2 separate regions of the Homo sapiens genome follow, and region 1 is linked to region 2. The links are contacts of gene promoters, found by promoter capture Hi-C in blood cells and fetal thymus (Javierre and others, 2016). All regions are on one chromosome and are shown on one strand. The core of a region is centred on a gene start or on the middle of the fragment in contact, and the rest is flanking DNA. Distances in the headings are between cores, read along the strand shown.

Evidence for each region. Contacts are between HindIII fragments. The CHiCAGO score rates a contact against its expected background, and 5 or more counts as called.
Region 1: the fragment with the promoter of HNF1A-AS1 here is called in contact with the fragment with the promoter of UNC119B in region 2 in 14 of 17 cell types (M0 macrophages, erythroblasts, activated CD4 T cells and 11 more); the score reaches 18.4 in M0 macrophages.

The regions. Positions count from the first base shown.
Region 1 is chr12:120,967,298-120,974,014 of GRCh38, reverse strand. It overlaps HNF1A-AS1 (HNF1A antisense RNA 1), which reads left to right and starts at 1,723. Exons shown (of 1, transcript NR_024345.1): 1 at 1,723-4,177. RefSeq lists an enhancer at 603-1,130. The HindIII fragment of the contact is 11,110 bases long and covers 1-4,214 here.
Region 2 is chr12:120,706,983-120,713,111 of GRCh38, reverse strand. UNC119B (unc-119 lipid binding chaperone B) reads right to left here and starts at 2,654. Exons shown (of 5, transcript NM_001080533.3): 1 at 2,394-2,654. The coding sequence starts at 2,637. It overlaps LOC124903036 (a long non-coding RNA gene), which reads left to right and starts at 2,606. Exons shown (of 2, transcript XR_007063491.1): 1 at 2,606-2,675; 2 at 2,838-3,179. RefSeq lists silencers at 2,345-2,614, 2,705-2,764 and an enhancer at 1,895-2,737. The HindIII fragment of the contact is 2,396 bases long and covers 1,661-4,056 here.

The sequences.
Region 1 (6,717 bases), core at 474-2,973, 260 kb before region 2:
TGGCCAGTAATGTATTTCACTCCAAGAACAACTCATGAATTAGGAACTGTTATAATCCCCCTTCTGCAGGGGAGGAAAGAGAGGCTCAGAGAGGTTAAATGACTGCTCAGAGTCCCTCAGAGCTGGGCTTTAAGTCCACCTGAGGCAGGCGGACGGGCTGTGCAGGACAAGTTGGCAGCCCCCGCCTTAAGGAGAGTGGTACCCTCTTTCCTCCAGTGCATTTATGTTTTATTTTTATTTTTGAGACAGAGCCTCACTTTGTCACCCAGGCTGGAGTACAGTGGTGCGATCTCAGCTCACTGTAACCTCTGCCTCCTGGGTTCGAGCAATCCTCCTACCTTAGCCTCCTGAGTAGCTGGGACTACAGGCACACACCACCATGCCTGGCTAATTTTTGTATTTTTGGTAGAGACAGGGTTTCACCATGTTTGCCAGGCTGGTCTCAAACTCCTGGCCTCAAAAGATCCACCCACCTCGGCCTCCCAAACTGTTGGGATTATAGGCGTGAGCCACCGTGCCCGGCCAAGTGCATTTTTTTGTAAACCCCCGTGCAAGTTGCTTTGAGGTTGAGCAGCTTACTGCTGGGGACAGCATTCTCAAGTCCAGGCTAAACAGGGAAGATGCTGTGTGCTGTCCCTTTGTGGCTTTGAGGTTCTCCTGCTTATTCTCTTTGCTGCCTGCAGCTGCCTCTTGGTGACTTTCCCTTTCCAGGGAGCCAGAGGAACCAAGGAGTGTTGGCCCTGACTCCTGCCCCCAGCATGTAAACTCATTAACTGCTGGGTCCTCAGGCAGTTAGGTGGCTGAGCATTTGAGTCTGGGACGGCAGGTGGATTTGGTTGGAGAGGGAATGACAGAGATTGGGGAGGAGCCTCCAGAGTCTAAAGAGATAGGTACACAAGCAGAAAGTTCCAGCCCCCAGCCTGCCTTTCCCCCATGCTCAGGGGACAAAGCTGAATTAACTCGAGGTCAGGAATGGCATTTGCATTTGCATTCTTGAGAGTCACTGCAAATAAGAGCTGTAGTCATGGTGAGTGGTTAAGGCAATGGACTAGAGAACCACTGAGAAAAAAAGCGAACAGTGGCTGGGCGCAGTGGCTCATGCCTGTCATCCCAGCACTTTGGGAGACCGAAGTGGGTGGATCACTTGAGGTCAGGAGTTCGAGACCAGCCTGGCCAACATGGTGAAAACCCGTCTCTACTAAAAATACAAAAATTAGCCAGGCTTGTCAGTGGGCACCTATAATCCCAGCTAGTCGGAAGGCTGAGGCAGGAGAATCACTTGAACCCAGAAGGCAGAGGTTGCAGTGAGCTGAGATCATGACACTGCACTCCAGCCTGGGTGACAGAGAGAAACTCCGTCTCAAAAAAAAAAGAAAAAGAAAAAAAAAAAAAGGAACAGCCGGACATGGTAGCTCATACCTGTAATCCCAGCGCTTTGGGAGACCGAGGCAGGTGGATCACCTGAGGTCAGGAGTTCCAGATCAGCCTGGCCAACATGGTAAAACCCCATCTCTACTAAAAATACAAAAATTAGCTGGATGTGGTGGCGCACACCTGTAGTCCCAGATACTCAGGAGGCTGAGGCAGGAGAATAGCTTGAACCCGGGAGGCGGAGGTTGCAGTGAGCAGAGATCACGCCACTGCACTCCAGCCTGGGCGATAGAGTAACAATCCGTCTCAAAAAAATCTGAAAATTAAAAATTAAAAAGTGAACAGTTGTTTAGTAAGTGCAGTAGGTAGGCCAAGATAACTATTAAGTATGTCCTAACAAGGTAGCTGCTTGAAAAAAATAATGCACATAAATTAAAAAAAAAAAAACTATTTTCACTCATTCTTAACTTCTCGTATGGATGTACTAACGGGAGGCCTGTGCCTGTTGGGCTGTCCACAGCTACTCAAACCTTGAGATTAGATTGGACGCTATCTAATCTCATTTCCTGTTACACAATAACTTCTGCATGGCACTTGCTTTTAATCATGACAACTGCCATACACTCAGCTTTACAAAATCATGTCATTGTGGAAAGGAAGTTCCCTCCATCTAACATTCAAATTTAACTATCCTGAGCTGGTAGTTTGCAAGGTGTCCAACAGATGTCACTGTGTTTCCTTCGCAAATTCTCTAAAATAGTCTGCTGTGTCCCGGGGCATAGTAGATATTCAAGAAATGGTGGCTATGAGTTTTATCACAATTCTCTCCTACTGGGTGAGCAGCTGTTTGCAAGACTAAAATTCGGGCGAGGCACAGGCTTCCCCTTGGTCTTAGCAGCTAGCACAAGACGAGTGTCCCTTCAGCCAGTCTCAGAGCTCTTTGGCAATTCAACTGACCCTTGTCCTTCAGTCCAGACAATGCCCCAGGGCCCACCTGCATTCAAACTCGGACTGTTCTCCTTCCCACCCCTATTATCTTTTCAACTTTATGGACAGTACATGCAATTTTCTCATTCATTTTCTCATTTAACATCTAACAGCTTCATGATATCCCCATTTTACAGATAAGGAAACCAAGGCTTTAAGAGGATAGGGACCCTAATCGGCTAAGGCAGAATTAGGATTTGAACCCAGATCCCCATGACGCCAGAATCTAAGCCTTGACCAAATATGTGTTACTATTACTTTTGTTGTTGTTGTTGTTCTGGGTAACTCCAACCCTCTGCTCGTTGGCCTTGTCACCTCAGTGCTGATTTTGCAGATGAAGAGACTAAGGTTCCGAGGTGCTAGAGCACAGTGGTTAGGAACACACACTCTAGAGCCAGAGTGCCTGGGTTTGAGCCTCGTTCTGCCGTTTACTAGCCGTATGGCCTTGGGCAACTTGCTTAACTTCTCTTTGCCTCAGTTCCTCTTCTCTTGGGTTGTTAGGAGAATGAATGAGGTGATATCCACAGTGTCCAACACCCTGCAAGCGGCCAGGTGTGGTGGATCACACCTGCAATCCCAGCACTTTGGGAGGCCGAGGCAGGTGGATCATTTGAGGTCAGGAGTTCGAGACCAGTCTGGCCAACATGGCGAAACCTCATTTCTACTAAAAATACAAAAATTAGCCGGGCGTGGTGGCAAACAACTGTAATCCGAGCTACTAGGGAGGCTGAGGCAGAAGAATCGCTTGAACCCAGGAGACAGAGGTTGCAGTGAGCCAAGATTGCACCACTGCACTCCAGCCTGGGCGACAGAGTGAGACCCTGCCTCAAAAACTAAAAATAAAAAATGAACAGTGTCCAACACCTTGAAAGCATTCCGCATGACTGAACGATCACTGTTACGTGATTACCAACATGACGACCCCACTTCTCTTGGCCAAACTGAGTTCTCTTCTCTTGTAAAAACTTCTGCATATGAAGTCACCCATTCCATTTGACTCTTTAGCCCTCATCCTGGCATTCAAGGGCATGGACGACTCAACCCCACTCTCTAGCCAGCCTGACCTCTCCATTCCCTTCTCTGGCGTAGAGGCCACTCCCACCACCTGCCCTTACCCCCTGCCCACTTTTGTCAGCCTGTACTGTGTTGAAGCTCCCAGGAGAGACAACTGCAGTCATCACTTTCCACTGTGTTCAGTGATGTCAGTTCGGCCCAGCTGGAGGTACTCACATCATGGAAACAGACCATCAGATTTGGTGTGTGTGTGTTTTATTTTGCTTTTTCAGAGAGCCAGCTGTTAAACACTAGCCAACACCCCATTGATGCTGTTCCTTCTACCTGAAACACCTCGCATTGCCGGTGAGCTCTAAAGACAAAAGGACCTGGGTCTGCATTTCCCAAAGGCAAGACTCTGGTATCACCTGCATATTATTTTCCCATATTTGAGCACCACTGCCTTTTGCATTATTTACTTAGCAGTTTTGCTCCTGTCAACTCACTTTTTTAAAACTAAACTTATTTTAAAAAGAAAAGTTTTGGCCGGGAGCGGTGGCTCATGCCTGTAATCCCAGCACTTTGGGAGGCCGAGGTGGGCAGATCACCTGAGGTCGGGAGTTCGAGACCAGCCTGACCAACATGGAGAAACTCCGTCTCTACTAAAAATACAAAATTAGCTGGGCGTGGTGGCGCATGCCTGTAATCCTAGCTACTCGGGAGGCTGTGGCAGGAGAATTGCTTGAACCCAGGAGGCGGGGGTTGCAGTGAGTCGAGATCGCCCCATTGTACTCCAGCCTGGGGAACAAGAACGAAACTCCGTCTCAAAAAAAAAAAAAAAAAAGAAAAAGAAAAGAAAAGCTTTATATAATTTTAATACTCAAAAAAACAGTATCCCGGCCAGGCACAGTGGCTCACACCTGTAATCCCAGCAATTTGGGAGGCCAGGCAGGAGGATCACTTGAGGCTAGGGGTTCAAGACCACTTGAGGCTAGGGCCAACATGGTGAGACCCCGTCTCTACTAAAAATACAAAAATTAGCCAGGCATAGTGGCACGTGCCTGTAATCCCAACTACTCGGGTGGCTGAGGAACAAAAATCACCTGAATCCAGGAGGCGGAGGTTGCTGCGAGCCGAGATCGTGCCACTGCACTTCAGCCTGGGTGACGGAGTGAGACTCTGTCTCAAAAAAAGAAAAAGAAAAAGAGTATCCCTTGCCATAAATAGCAAGCAGTCATTCAGACATGGAAATGAGGCATTCACACTTGTTCTTGTTTCACACTAAGGCCCTAAGCCTAAGGAGGGTTTCTCTATGTTGAAAGGAAATTAGGCAGTGTTCAGAGGGGTGTTAAAGATAGACTAGCAACTAATTGAAACTTTCTCCTCAATGTAAGCACTTTAGAAGGGACTGAAAAGAGAATGTTCTCCCTACATGTACCATATCACCTACAATTACCTCGTGTACCACTATTTTGCAAATAAATGCCAGAGGCAAGAGTACATTTTGATGCTTTAGCCTAGCACTCAAAGCCCTCCTCGATTTGAATCTTTCCAGCCTCATCTTGCACAGCCCCTCCATACCCAGACCTCACCCACTCTATTTGCCATCTCCAGAACATACCCCTAACTTTCTCACCTCTGTGCCTTTGTGCAAGCTGCTCCCTCTACCTGGAAACCTCCATTTGTCAAGCTGCTGCTGTCTTCAAGATCTACCTGGTCAGAATCTCCTGCTGTCCTCTTCTGCCACCCACAGCAATGTGAGCCTTCACTGGCTGGCCTTCCCTACTCACTGGAGCAGAGCTACGGCATCAGAATGCCCTGGAGCAGGGGTTAGAAACACAGATTTCTGAGTCTACACTCGAAGATTTTTTTTTCTTTCTTTCTTTTTTTTTGTTTTCCAATTTTTCTAATTTTAGAGATGGGGTCTCACCACGTTGCCCAGGCTGGTCTCAAGCTCCTGGACTCAGGTCATCCTACCACCTAGGCCTTCTAAAGTGTTAGGATGAGCCCTGAACCTTGTAACATGAACATTTATTAGTTATATCTGGAAAAAAATATAAAGTTATTTTTATTTGGGTGATACTGCCTTCAAAAAACAAAAACAAAAAAAAACAGGAGGCCGAGCACAGTGGCTCATGCCTGTAATCCCAGTGCTTTGGGAGGCTGAGGCAGGCGGATCACTTGAGACCAGGAGTTCAAGACCAGCCTGGCCAACATAGTGAAACCCCGCTTCTATTAAAAATACAAAAATGGGCCAGGCACGGTGGCTCATACCTGTAATCCCAGCACTTTGGGAGGCCGAGGCGAGTGAATCACGAGGTCAAGAGATCAAGACCATCCTGGTAAACATGGAGAAACCCTGTCTCTACTAAAAATACAAAAATTAGCTGGGCACGGTGTCACGTGCCTGTAGTCCCAGCTACTAGAGAAGCTGAGTCAGCGGAATCGCTTGAACCCAGGAGGTAGAGGTTGCAGTGAGCTGAGATTGCACCACTGCACTCCAGCCTGGGCGACAGAGTGAGACTCTGTCTCAAAAAAAAAAAAAAAAAAATTAGCCAAGTGTGGTGGCACATGCCTGTAATCCCAATTACTCGGGAGGCTGAGGCAGAAGAATTGCTTGAACCTGGGAGGTGGAGGTTTCAGTGAGCCAAGATCGCACCACTGCCCTCCAGCCTGGGCAATAGAGCAAGACTCCATCTCACAAAATAAAAAGCCAAAAAAAGCTCTCGACAGTTCTGTTCCCCGCCTGAGGTGTTTGTCTCAGGATCCCGGCCTGGCTGTGGGCCACAGATGGCAAAAACCAAGGTCCGTCTATTACTGGGCATCCAGGGTTTCATAATCTCTACGACCTCCATGCCTGGAACTCCACACATTGCGCATGCCCCAGAAACGCTTGCCCAACGGACCCCAATCCACCATTTCTGAATGCATTTTTCATGACTTGCTGAATGTGTCTTGTTAATCCAATTAGATTGTAAACTCCGGGAGTGCAGGGACAACGTTGACCTTCCTATTACTCCCCTCACCCCCGCCCAGCTCTGGGCTGGGCACACAGTGACCCTCAAGGGTAGCACAAAGACTTGAGGCAAGAAAAACACCTGTAGAAGGAAAAGGCTGGATACTGGGAGCGCCTCTGTCTGCTTTGCTGCCATCCTCTTCTTCAACAACAAAGGACACGCTAATTCTATGCAGCAAAAGTTTCCAAACACGTTAGCCTAAGAATTTCGAGTCATGCAAAAAATAAATTCCCAGAGTCACAGGGTTAAAAAAAATCAGATTCCAGGGCCCCATCCTTGTTGTTCCTGAGTCAGACTCCCCAGTCAAACTGCCAGAGAACCTCGTCTTTGAACAAACACTTCAGGCAAC
Region 2 (6,129 bases), core at 1,405-3,904:
ACAGAATTAGGGGATCCAACAAAGAAAAAAAATAACAAGGACTTGCTTTGGATGAAAAATTGCAAAACTTTTAGAAACTAGGATAGAAAAGGTGGATTTCTTTGGAAACACATAAAAATCTTTCATCATCTATCAAGTTGGATGTCAGAACAGGGCGAACTTTTTATAGAATTCCAATCTAAGACATTTAAACTGACTTAGCAGATAATACAGTGCTAGTTTGCCAACGTTAGTTTGCCAACTGTCAGTGTAAGAAAGCCGAGATCAGCAAACTTTTCTGTAGAGCCAGATTCTAAATAATTTAGGCTTTGCCGCCACATGGTCTCTGTCACAACTACTCAACTCTATCATTGTAGCCACAAAAGCATCCACAGACAATACGCAAATGAATGAATGTGGCTATATTCCAGTAAAACTGTATTTATGGACACTGAAATATGAATTTTACATAACCACGTGTCTCAAGATTTTAAAGTTTTTTTCAACCATTTAAAAATGTACAAACCTAATCTTAGTTTGTGGGCTACACAAAATCATACAGTAGACAATACATATCATACATATCCAGGCAAGAGGATAAATCTGCCGGTGAAGACATTAGGCCCAAGTGACTAGAACATGAGCCGCAAATTGAAATAATTCTAATCACAGCAAATTTCACTGATTTCTTTCTAGGATGATTCCGGATAGCATCTTCTCCACAGCTCATTTTGATACTTGATCTTTTATTGCCTGAGTTAGTTGTTTTCGTGTTTTACAAGTTGTCTCTTTATTAAGACGACAAACTTGACAACTACTGATTATTCTGTAACTGCTAAAAAGGCTAACATTGGCTTTGGACTCTTAGAGGGTACTCAAATAATCTGCTGGATAGAATGAACGAGACGTTAAGAAGAGTAACAAAGAGGTTGCCAGACTCTAAGAAGCTGCAGAGGTGGGTTTGGACAATGAGCAACAATCCCAAGCCCCCAGATAGGATCTGAGTGCCCACTGAGAATCCTGCTTAGGGCCAGGCACAGAATACCCTAACTCACTTGGATGGCAGGAGAGGGCATGAGGTTACCAAGACCAGGTGCTGAGCATCTGTACTTTCAGAGCCCCAAATGAAAACTGGTTCAGAAGAAAAGAAGCTTTTTCACACTGTTTCAATAAAACTAACAAGAATGTCTAAAGATACGTTCAGGTCTGGTAAGGACAGTCTCAACCCAAACAGTATTGGGAAACGGGGGCATCCAAATATCTAGAATCAAATTAAAACTCTTTTAGGAAATGGGAATTCCCTTTCGCACAGGGTGGACCAAGGCCTACTCCCCCCAAATTTCCATCCCCAAATTACTAGAGCTGCAATCGGCAACCTGAGGTGCACCTGAACAGCCCTGGGCTGCCTGCTATAGCAGCTCAGCAGACACCATGGCAGCCTTCGATCCATCCAGGGAATGTTGCTGCTGCCACAGGGTTAGGAGACTGCACGCCAGGAGTGATGGGCAGGCCAAGATAGGCCTAACTAGGTGAGTGCACACTCCTGCAGGGAAAACAGCAGCAAGAGAAAAGACGTCAAGTCAGGGACTGGCTTGGCAGAGAACAGAAAAAGGGAGATCACCCAGGGCAGGGACTGGGCAACATTTTTCTTCCCACCCATCCTCCTATCAACGAAAAAGCTTAGGATGGTTGCCTTTTGTGCAGGAAACGCATTTCTGAAACTCTGAAATCATTCTTAATTCACGAGAATGTCAAAAGCAGGATTCACATGTCGGAGTCTGTACACAAACTGAAACTTTATTTTTGTTTTAATGTGGCACAGTTTTAAATGAGCAGGAAATGCCACGGCTATGTGTTTTGAGGAAGAACCCATCTGCACACTAAGGGGCAACGCTCCCGACCCAAAGAGGGAGGGAGGCCGGGCAGGCTGCAATGGGGGAGGGCTGCCATGGGGCCAGGGCGGAGGAAGCAGGTAAGGCTTCTGGCCTGCCAGAGGGCTGGGGGAGCCTGGCTGAGCGGGAACTTCACTGATGGCCGGGGGTTCCAGGCTGAGGGCCCAGGGGCCCATTTATTAGGGGACCTCGGCCCCCGGCCGGCTCAGGAGGATCCAGTTCAGCTGAACGGGGCCCTCTACCCAAACAGGTCCGGCAGAGCTGGGGAGCCGACCGGCCGAAGGGCATCCTAGCGTGGCCGGACTCACAGGAATGCGGTCCAGCCCAGGAGAGTCCTTCCCCACCAGAGCTACGTGAGCGTGGCGGGAGCAAAGCCCGGCCGGCGGGGCAGCGGGAAGCGCGGCCCGGCCGGCCGAGGGGGTCTGGCGGGGACCCCCGCGCTGGTCAAGTGGCCGGGTCCGCTGAAGGCTCCGGGAGCCGGGGCACGGCGCGAGGGGAGGGCGCGGCCCGCGCGGCACTCACTCTCGGTGACCCGGCTGAGGCGCAGGACGTGCTCGGGCCGGATGGTGTCCAGCGCCAGCAGCTCCTGCTCCGTGACCGCTGCCCCGACGCCGTCGTCGGCCGCGTGGTGGGGCGCCTGCCGCCGCGCCTTCAGGCGGTTCAGGACGCCGCCGCCCGCCTTCTTCTTCTCCTCCTTGCCAGCCACCAGCCCCCCGGGCCCAGCCGCCGACGCCGCGGCCGCAGCCTTCGGGTTAGACCCGCTCATCGCTCCGCCGCCAAGATGGCCGCCGCCTCCACAGCGCGGTAACTATGGAGAGCGGGGGCGGGGCCCGGGGCCCGGCGGGGAAGGGGCGGGGAGGGGGCGGGGCGGGGGCGGGGGCGGGCGCCCGGGGGGCTGTGGAATTCCCTTTCGCACAGGGTGGACCAAGGCCCACTCTCCCCAAACTTCCATCCCCAAATAACTAGAGCTGCCATCAGCAACCTGAGGTGCACATGAGCAGCCCTGGGCTGACTCCTATAGCAATTCAGCGGACGACACCATGGCAGCCTTCGATCCATTCAGGGAATGCTGCTGCTGCCACAGGGTTAGGAGACCGCAGGCCAGGAGTGATGGGCAGGCCAAGATAGGCCTAACTGGGTGACTGCACACTCCTGCGGGGCCCGGGGGGCGGTGCTTCGGCTACTGCCCCAACTTTGGTCCTGCCAGGTGGAGGGCCTAGGGGTGGCTGGAGCTTCAGCAACCCCACTCCCCATCAGACCCCCAAGATCCTCCACGATGTTTAAATACATATCTTACGGTCAAATGAATTTACGTCATATAAACTTTCCTCCTCCTCATCCTCCTCCTGGTCTGAAAGAGCACACAGAATCTTCCGTGCACCATCTCGGCATTCTCAATCCAAGAGTTCTGTCACCAGTCCCAACAGCACAATGGCAACTAATTCCCAGTAATCACACCAAGAAGAAGAATGGCCAGTGTTTACTGCGCACTTGCTATATGGCAGGACACTTGCTATAGGGCAGGCTCCTCACCTCACAACAACCCTGTGAGGTATTACTGTCTCCATTTTACAGATCAGGAAGCTCAAGTTCAGAGAAGTCAGGTAACATGTCCAAAGTCCCTCAAGCAGTAAGAGGAGGGAACAGGGATTTTAATCCAGGTCCATCTGACCCAAGGCCTGTTCTTCAACACTAAGCTATTAGTGGACAATGCATCTTGAGAAAATGTTTATTAATATATTTAGCATAGAAGGTAAGTTAAAGCAGTGTTTGTTTTGCAAAGGCAGTTTCAAGACAAACTTTCCAATGAGATTGCCATCCGTAAGCCCTACTGTGCCAGGCCCTGGGCTAGACATTGGGCTAGGCTACAGGAGATGTAAGAGTGAGGGCAGGGATTGGGTCTGCCTCACCCCTGAATTCCCAGCAGTTCAGCTAATGCCTGACACGTGGTAGGTGCTCAGTAATGATTGAATGAGAGCCTGAACAGTATCCCACTATGGAAGAGCTCCCACTTTTGTTAGAGAAGACTGTAAAGTACACAATTCATTATGTGACCCTTCCTTTTCACAAGGTAGGTTAGTATGAACTGGAAGACAAACTAGATTCACTGACTGCACTAAGAGATGCAGCAAAGGTGCTAGGAGAACACACAGGAGTGGTTTATTCTGACCTGGCTGTAAAAGCTTGAGGGCTTCGGAAGTTTTCAGAGGCAATATCTGCACTGAGCTTTGGAAGTTAGCCATGACCTCACCAATTAGCCAGAAGTGGGTCAACAGGGGGATGTGGTCTACCGTCTTCCACCCTGAGGGGCTCCTTCTCTAGGGATTCTAGATCTGCACTGTTCTGTGTTGGAGGCCTGGGCCTGATTGATGCAGTGTGTCTGCTAGGTCTGACATCACCTCTCAGCCAGGCTAGAGTAAAATTGCAACCGTCCCCCAGAGCCTCTTGACGTTCTTGCCAGGCCTTGCTTGCTGAGTCCCTCTCACCAAAGCCACCAAGACAGGCATCTCTTGGTTCCTGGACAAAGTCCAAACCTGACCCCACCCCAGCTGCCCAATTGGGTGGCATAGTGTGTGGCCAAATTCCTACCCAAATGCTGTACTGTCTTTGAGAGATTAGTATATGGTGGCATTTAACTAACTGTTCAGGGAGATTTTAATAAATGTGTACAAAGAATTAAAGTCTTTCCTTTTACAAACAACTCTTTTTAAACCACTCAACAGAGTGGTTACTGAAGAATTTCCAGAACTTTTAATATGCTACTTGATTGTGAATGGCCAAGAGGGTGGTTTAGCATGTGGTCATTTCCCATATACTTATTTACGGAAGGTTTGTTCTCATAGCACCAAGACTAGTTACCTGGACCATGGCTTTTCTCTTTCTAGGGATGATGGCAAATGTAACCTCTTCACCTGCAATTCCACATCTAGGAATTTACCCTACCTGCATGCACAGAGATTTGTAATATTGACAAATTACAATAAATTACATTTGTATCCATTCACGTTACATAGAGCTGTTTTAAAAAATGAGACATATATATTAGTATGGAAAGATCTCAAACATATATTAAGTAGGGCAAAAAGCAAGGCACAGAGTCATATTTGTGTATTTATTTATTTAAGACAGGGTCTCACTCTTGTCACCCAGGCTGCAGTGCAGTGGCACAATCACAGCTCACTGCATCCAGCCGCGAATCCCATTTATTTAAAATAAAAAGTATATAAATATTTAGATGTGGGCCGAGTGTGGTGGTTCATGCCTGTAATCCCAGCACTTTGGGAGGCCAAGGTGAGCAAATTGCTTGAGCCCAGGAGTTCGAGACCAGCCTGGGAAACATGGCAAAACCCCGTCTCTACTAAAAATACGAAAATTAGCTGGGCGTGGTGGTGCATGCCAGTAGTCCCAGCTACTCAGGAGGCTGAGGTGGGAGAATCACCGGAGCCCAGGAAGCCGAGGCTGTGTGAGCTGAGATCGCACCACTGCACTTTAGCCTGGGCCATGGGCGTGAGACCCTGTCTCAAAAAAAAAAAAAAAAAAAACACAGATAGACATAGACATAAATATAAATATGCATTTGTAACTGTAAAGGAAGAGGTCTGGATATACATTAAAACATTAACTTTGATTACGTCTGGGGAGGAGAGTATCAGAAGAGACTAAAGGAAATATATTCACTTTTGACATTATTTAGAACTACTACTTCTGTACTATTTTATCTCAAGCATATAATCATGGGCTGCTTGTATACTTTTTTAAAAAGAAAATACCGGCCAGGTGCAGTGGCTCACGGCTATAATTCCAGCACTTTGGGAAGCCGAGGCAGGCAGATCACAACGTCAGGAGTTCGAGACCAGCCTGACCAATATGGTGAAACCCCGTCTCTACTAAAACTACAAAAATTAGCCGGGCATGGTGGCACACTCCTTTAGTCCCAGCTACTTGGGAGGCTGAGGCAGGAGAATCGCTTGAACCTGGGAGGTGGAGGTTGCAGTGAGCTGAGATCGCGCCACTGCACTCCAGCCTGGCAACAGAGCAAGACTCTGTCTCAAAAAAAAAAAAAAGAAAAGAAAATACTTTTGGATCTGTGTCTGGAAGGCAAACTCTATGCCAAAGTTGCCTTACAAATCTTTTAAAATTTAAAAGCAACCTCAAACTTAATTTTTTTTTTTTTTTTTCTGACGGGTCTCGCTCTGTCACCCAGGCTGGAGTGCAGTGGCACAATCTCGGCTCACTGCAACCTCTGCCTCCTGGGTTC